2 separate regions of the Homo sapiens genome follow, and region 1 is linked to region 2. Evidence: promoter capture Hi-C in human tissues and cell types (Jung and others, 2019). All regions are on one chromosome and are shown on one strand. Each heading gives the region's core, a stretch centred on a gene start or on the middle of the fragment in contact. The rest is flanking DNA. Distances are from core to core; before and after follow the strand shown. Region 1 overlaps ATL1 (atlastin GTPase 1). Region 2 holds the start of ABHD12B (abhydrolase domain containing 12B).

Evidence for each region. The method cuts DNA at HindIII sites, captures the fragments that hold promoters and counts their contacts. A contact is called where the count stands out against the background at its distance.
Region 1: a contact is called between a fragment that was not itself captured here and the fragment with the promoter of ABHD12B in region 2, in 2 of the 25 tissues and cell types used here (lymphoblastoid cells and spleen).

Annotation. Positions count from the first base shown.
Region 1 is chr14:50,581,390-50,585,106 of GRCh38, reverse strand. The region is part of intron 1 of ATL1 (atlastin GTPase 1); the gene reads right to left. Among named protein-coding and RNA genes, the nearest start is that of ATL1, 23 kb to the right of the region's middle. The HindIII fragment of the contact is 6,629 bases long and covers 1-3,717 here.
Region 2 is chr14:50,870,344-50,874,236 of GRCh38, reverse strand. It overlaps ABHD12B (abhydrolase domain containing 12B), which reads right to left and starts at 2,184. Exons shown (of 13, transcript NM_001206673.2): 1 at 1,959-2,184. The coding sequence starts at 2,062. The HindIII fragment of the contact is 9,841 bases long and covers 1-3,099 here.

The DNA of each region.
Region 1 (3,717 bases), core at 1,039-3,538, 290 kb after region 2:
TGCAGAGGTATAAAATGTTATCTCACTGTGGTCTTGATATACATTTCTCTAATTGCTAATAAGATAAGTACTCCTTTTATCCGTTTTTCTATTAGGTAGTTTGTCTTTTTCTTACTGATTTGTAGTTCTTTATGTATTTTGAATGCTATCCCTTTGTTAGTTACATGCATAGCAAGAGTCTTCTAGTTTCTAAGAGTTTGCCTTTTCATTTTCCTTAAGCTATAATTGATGAAAAGGCATTCTTAATTTTAATGTAATAGATTTTATTAATATTTTCTTTTATGGTTAACATTTTGTATACCATGTTTAAGAAATGATTCCACATACAAGATCTGAAAGATAGTCATATATATTCTATTTTATTTTATTTTATTTTTTATTTATTTATTTATTTTTTTGAGACAGAGTCTCGTTCTGTCGCCCAGGCTGGAGTGCAGTGGCGCGATCTCGGCTCACTGCAAGCTCCGCCTCCCGGGTTCACGCCATTCTCCTGCTTCAGCCTCCTGAATAGCTGGGACTACAGGTGCCCGCCACCTCGCATTTTTTATTTTTTATTTTTTTATTTTTAGTAGAGACAAGGTTTCACCATGTTAGCCAGGATGGTCTCGATCTCCTGACCTCGTGATCTGCCCGCCTCGGCCTCCCAAAGTGCTGGGATTACAGGCGTGAGCCACCGCGCCCGGCCAATAGTCACATATATTCTTCTAAGTTTATTTGTTTGTTGTTTTTTGAGACAGGGTCTCACTCTGTTACCCAGGCAGAGTGCAGTGGTGTGAGCTCAGCTCACTGCAACCTCTGCTTCCTGAGCTCAATCGATCCTCCCACCTCAACCTCCCGAGTAGATGGGACTACAGGCACACACAACCACCAAGTCCCACTAATTTCTGTATTTTTTGTAGAGATGGGGTCTCACCATGTTGCTCAGGCTGGTCTCAAATTCCTGGACTCAAGTGATCCACGTGCCTTGGCCTCCCAAAGTGCTGGCATTACAGGGATGAACCACGGTGCCCAGACTTTTCTATGTTTTAAAGTTTGCTTTTGATACTTAAGTTCCTAGTCCATCAGAAGTTGTTATTTGTAGGGTGGAAGATAAAAGCCATTTCTTTTTTAAATATGAGAAACAAATTTTTTCAGAGCTCTGTCAAAGCCCCTTCTTTCCTCAAGTGGTCTGCCATGAGATCTTTGTCATAAGTAAGAGTTTTACACAAACACACACCCCCACATACACACTGACTCATTTCTGAGCTCTCAGTTCTGATCCATTCATCAATTTCTCTACACCAGCACCAATTTTACACTATCCTATTCAAAATAGCTTCATAAAAAGTTACTGTATATAATATGGCAAGCACCTCCTATCCTTCTAATTATTATTGGTCTTGGCTATTTTAACCCTTTCCATATAAATATTAAAATCAATCTGTTAGTTGAACTCTTTACTGAAGTTACATTTATAGATCAGTTTGAAATGAATCAGTACCTTCATGCTATTAAGTCTTCTAATACATTAACATGATCTAGCTCTCCATCTATGTTTGGTCTTTAATTCCCTTTGGTAATGTTTTTATAATTTGGGGGAGTAGGAAGAGGTTTATTACATTTAGTCCCAGGTGCACTGTAGTTTTTGTTGCTAACTATGACTGGTTTATTTGTTGTTGTTTTAGTTATACTTTCTAGTTGTTGTTTGGATAAAGAACTATAATTAGCTTTAATGCATTGGTCTCATATTGAAGCATTTACTAAACTTTATTATTTCCTGTAAAATTTATGTAGATACTTTTGGGTTTTTTAAATGTAGAAACAGAAATACAATTTTCAAATAATGACAGTTTCCAACTTTTCAATCTTTATGTATGTCTTTTCTTTTTCTTAACTTATTAGACATTCAAGGCAATGTTGAATAGAAGAGGTGATAATGGGCATAACTTTTGATTTCAGTAGGCATAACTTCCTGATTTTAAAGGGAATGTCTCCAATATTTGCCTATTGGGGTTACTTTTGTTACAGTTTTGTTGGGCTTGGTTTGGTAGATACATTTTATCATATCAGATGAAGGAAATTCTATGTGTAGTTTACTAAGGGTTTCTAAAAATCACAAACAAATAATGAATTTTATCAAATAATCTCTTCTGCATCTATTGAGGTGATCATATAGCTTTTCACATCCAACATATCAGTGTAGCAAATAATATATATTTGCACTTTTTATATAAACCTAATAGTCTCAGGGTATAGTATAATGTTGGATTCAGTTTGCTAAGATTTTGTTTAGGAATTGTGCATGTATATTCATAAATGAGTTGCCTATGACTTTCCTTTCTTATTTTGTCCTTGGGTGGTTTTATTATATAAGTTATGCAAGCTTTATAAAATGAATTAGCAGCTGGGCATGGTGGCTTACACTTGTAATCCCAGCACTTTGGGAGGCCGAGGCGGGTGGATCATTTGAGGTCAAGAGTTTGAGACCAACCTGGCCAAGATGGTGAAACCCCGTCTCTACTAAAAAAAAAAAAAAACAACAACACAAAAATTATCTAGGCATGGTGGTGCGTGCCTGTAGTCCCAACTACTTGAGAGGCTGAGGCAGGAGAATCACTTGAACCCACAAGGCAGAGGTTGCAGTGAGCTGAGATCACACCACTGCACGCCAGCCTGGGTGACAGAGTGAGACTCCGTCTTATGGAAAAAAAAAAAAAGAGAAAAGTTTGTAATAAAAGATTGGAGTGAACGGTTCTTTGAAATTTTGATAGAACTCACCTGTAAAACTTTGTGAACCTGGTGTTTTCTTTGTGAGATGATTTTTAACTGTCATTTAAATTTCTTTTGTTGAGATGGAGACTCACTCTGTCACCCAGGCTAGAGTGCAGTGGCGCGATCTCGGCTCACTGCAACCTCTGCCTCCCGGGTTTAAGCAATTCTGCCTCAGCCTCCCAAGTATCTGGAACTACAGGCACGTGCCACCATGCCCGGCTAATTTTTTGTATTTTTAGTAGAGATGGGGTTTCACCATGTTGGCCAGGCTGGTCTCAAACTCCTGACCTCAAGTGATCCGCCCGCCTCGGCCTCCCAAAGTGCTGGGATTACAGTCATGAGCCACCGCGACTGGCCATTTCAATTTCTTTAATAGTTATTATTGCTATTGTGATATTAGTACCAATAAAGCTTGATAGTTCTTGAAATACTTCTAGTTCATTCTATCTTTCTAGGAATTTTCTTTTCACTGCCTTAAAATTCAGACAAAAATCAGTAAATATGCAGATTTGAACAGCATCATTAGCCAGTAGCCAGCCTTACCTATCTGACATCTAGTAATTATAGAACCACACATTCTTTTTAAGTTCATATGGAACATTTACCAAATAGCCTAGGTACTGGCTTATAAATCAGATCTCAATAAACTTCAAAGAATTACAGTAAGAAAGAATATGTTATCTCATCATAAAGGAATTAAACCAGAAATCAGTAACAAGAAGATATTAAGAAAATCTCTAAATGTTTGGAAATTAAGCAATAAATCTAAATAACCTATGGAATAAAGAAGAAAGTACAATGAAAACTAGAAAATATTGTGAACTAAATGATCTGATGAATGTTCTGATCTATTTGTCAATTTGTCTTTGACAGCACCAATACTACACTATATTCATTAAAATAGCTTTATGAAAAGCCATTATATGTTAATAGGACAAGCCCTCTTATCTTCTAATTACTATCAGT
Region 2 (3,893 bases), core at 935-3,434:
TTGATAAAAATTTTTGTAAAATAAATAACTAGATTCCCAAGGCATTAAAAAATAGCCACTGAAAAAATCATATGATGAAATGTTCTTGGGTCTCACAACACATCCCACTAGTTCCAGTGCCATGATCAGGGCCAGGGGCATGGCAAGCCCTCCATGAAGGTTTGCTCACCTAAGTGAACCCGGCTCCAAGAATCAAAGAGGACTTGGGATAGTGGAAATGGGTCTGGGCCTCAGCCTCAGCACATCTTATGGTAGCCAATAATCTTCTGCTCAGATGAAGACATACGCTAGTATTTTGTTCTTTCAGGAAGTGTCTCTTGAGACTTTTTTCACTAATTAGTAAGGCAAGTAATAGATGGTCCCCAACTCCCTATCTCCCACTCCATTATCAACAAAGTGGGTTATTCTCTATGAGTATGATGTGCAACTTTGATTCTCTGCCTAATAAATGCCCTTTACTGCCAAATAAATGTTAAATAATCAGCCATCAATTCCACAGAGACCATCAAAGTGAAAAACATTAGATGTCAACGTTCCCAGAATCACCACATCTGGGAGAGAAGTCCTGTTAATATGCAGTTTGACAAGTGCAATCAGGACATTCTGCCACGTGTTCAGATCCAACCCAGAGCTGGGAGGCATGGGTTCTAGGTGACTGGGCCCCTGCAGAGCTGCCAGCACTCTGCTGTCTGCAATGAGAATAAAAAGGAATAGAAGAGAAAAGAGACCAGGTGCAGTGGCTCACACCTGTAATCCCAACACTTTGGGGTGCCAAGGCAGGTGGAATCTGTGAGCTCCAGGAGTTTGAGACCAACCTGAACAATGTAGTGAAAACCCATATCTACACAAAATACAAAAATCAGCTCAGTGTGGTGGCAGGTGCCTGTAGTCCCAGCTACTGGGGAGGCTGAGACGGGAGGATCGCTGGAGCCCTGGGAATGAGCCAAGATTGTGCCACTGCACTCCAGCCTGGGCAACAGAGTGAAACCCTTGTCTCAAAAAAGAAAAAAAAAAGAGAGAGAGAGAGAGAAAAGATCCCCGTTTGTCATCATCACTCTGGGCACTCCAAAGTGAGGTCTCCTGTGTCTGGATGTAATTTTTGGATATTTTCTAATCAGCACAAATTAAACAAAAGGAATAGAAAGAGGGAAGTAAAAATGCCAATACCTTCCCACACCAACAAAACTAAATGAAATACCCACGTGTCCTGGGTCCACGATCTCCAACCAATACCTGGCTTCAGTGCAAACAAGACTGACAATATGTTGCAGGTGGATTCAGGTAATTTAAGATTACTGTTTAAACCGAGGATCCATGGGAGGAAGAAAACAGAAACAAAACCCGAAACACCCACTGATACATTTCAGACTTAAACAACATAAGAACTTGGCACAGGTAATGCCAAGTTATGGTTTCAACACACTATGTACATCTTTAGCATACTGGAGGTGTTTTCTTTAAATACATGCCAGGGAGTTCACACTCAGGGAACTAGGCACGGATTTTCTGATTCTTTTCCACCTACACAGATAGGCCCTTGACCTAAGAGGATCCCGTCCAAGATTACAACATATATTACTATTGTCACTATTACTAATGTCATTCAGATCCATCTTGTATGTTAGCAAAATGGTCAGATAATAGAGATTGGTGTAGGAATTCAACCATCTCCCTGGCATCTGTATTTCAGAAGCCCCCAAAAGTTATAACTTCCTGAAATACCAAACCTGAGAGTCTCGCTGGTCCAGGTTGGGATTGAGGCTGAGGATAGCAAGGGCAACCAAAGAGCCCTAGAGTTCTCAGGGGGCCGCCGAGGTCCCCCGGAAGCCACAATGCTGGGCCTTGGGCCCGGGCCAGCAGAGGGGATTGCGGCCTCGGCCGCGCCCTGGCCCCCTGCCCCATCCCCGCGCAGCCTGAGCCGTCGGGGCCCGGCCAGGGGTGGACCGGGCGGTACTCACCGCAGGTTGCGGTCGACCATGTCCCACCAGGCGGCCACGCAGCTACGGGCTGGGGGCCCGGGCGGCTCGGGCGATGCGGCCGCCTGGCAGTCCTGCGCGTCCATCCCGCGCCGTGTCCCGATACGCCGCCACCGCCGCGGGAGCTGCAGTCCGGAGCAGCCGCCCGCGACCTTCCCGCCCCGGCGGCACCGCGCCCGCCCTCCTCCTCCGCGCGGTCAGGCAGGCTGGTACGGCGGGGGAGACGCGGCCCGAGGGTGCGCTCCGCCCGGGTCAGGCTGTTCGCGGCCACACACACACACACAGATGTCCTAAGCTTATAGCTAGCTATGCTACATTTTATTTTAAATTGATTTCCATTATACTTCTGTGTGTGTGTGGGTGTGAGGCGCGCGCAACGCAGTAAAATATGTTTTCACCATGGTACTACTAACACAAAAGTTTGACCGCCACAGCTTTTGATTTTCATGAAGAATATAAGCTTTCCTCTACTTAAACCTCACTTTTTTCTTTTTCTCTTTTTCTGAAGCCTCCTTGTCTCCAATTCCCCATCCACCCCCAAAATCCTCACAGCCCCCCACCCTGTCACCCTTACTATAGAAAGAATTTCTTTGGCTCCCTTTGATTTACTAATGATTTGTCTGTCCACGTGGGGTTATGAACACAATTACTCCATGTAGCAAAAAATTAAGACCTTTTCGGTATTTTGTTTACGTAGCAGCATGTAGCAGAACCTCATCATTGTACCAAGGAGTTCACACCTTGAAACTTTGACCTTGGTACAGGTTTACATCTTGGTGCAGGTTTACATTGTGCAACTGTCTCCTAGGAGCAGGAACTGTCTACCAGAGCTACTCTAGGGAAGCCACGGCCTGCATGTGTGGGGACAAAGGAGGAAGAAAGGGAATTAGGTTTTATTTGGATACATTCGGATGCCAGCATCAAGGCTTCATCTTGGAGGCAAGGTGCAAATCTTAAGAGGTGAAATGGGTTTTTTGTAGTGTCTGTGTTCAGAGGGCACAGCAGGGGGCTGTCAGCACCAGAAAGTGCGTGGAAACCCATCTGCTTGAGGATAGTAAGATGGTCTGGGGGAAAATACCCACACTTTTCAAGAAAGGGAAGTTTTCTTTGAGTACTAGCTCATTTCATGGAACTGTCAGGGCAAAGGGGGATTTTGTTCACTGCCTGTTAATACTCTTATACTTGCTCTGGGAATGTTTGTTTTCTTTGTTTCTTTCTCTTTCCTTCCTTCCTTTCTTTCTTTCTTTCTTTCTTTCTTTCTTTCTTTCTTTCTTTCTCTTTCTTTCTTTCTTTCTTTCTTTCTTTCTTTCTTTCTTTCTTTCTTTCTTTCTTTCTTTCTTTCTTTCTTTCTTGTCATGGTCTTACCCTGTCACTGAGGCTGGAGTGCAGTGGTGCAATCATAGCTCACTGTACTTGAACTCACTTGAACTCCTGGACTCAAGCAATCCTTCCACTCCAGCCTCCCAAGTAGCTGGGACTACAAGCATGCACCACTATGCCTGGTGCGCGCGCGCACGCACGCTTGTGTGTATAGAGATGAGATCTCACTATGTTGCCCAGGCTGCTATCAAACTCCTGGCCTCAAGCAATTCTCCCACTTCGGCCTCCCAAAGTGCTGGGATTACAGGTCTCTGTCACCACACCTGGCTGGAATGTTCAGTTTCTGATTCACACACATCAAGATAGAAGAGGAATTAGCTCAGAAAGGACCAATGGGATCCAAGCCTGACTGATGAGCCAGCAGCAGGTGGGTTTTCACAGAGCCACAACCTGCATGATGAGAAAGCTTCAAGCAGATGTCGGCTCTACCCTTGGAGTTCTTCATAAACGTGGTCTGGAATCTCCCAGAACTTGTTCAGGGAAGCTCTGGATGGGACTCTGGGGCCATGCCAAGTGGAGATGGAGGGATCAAAGATG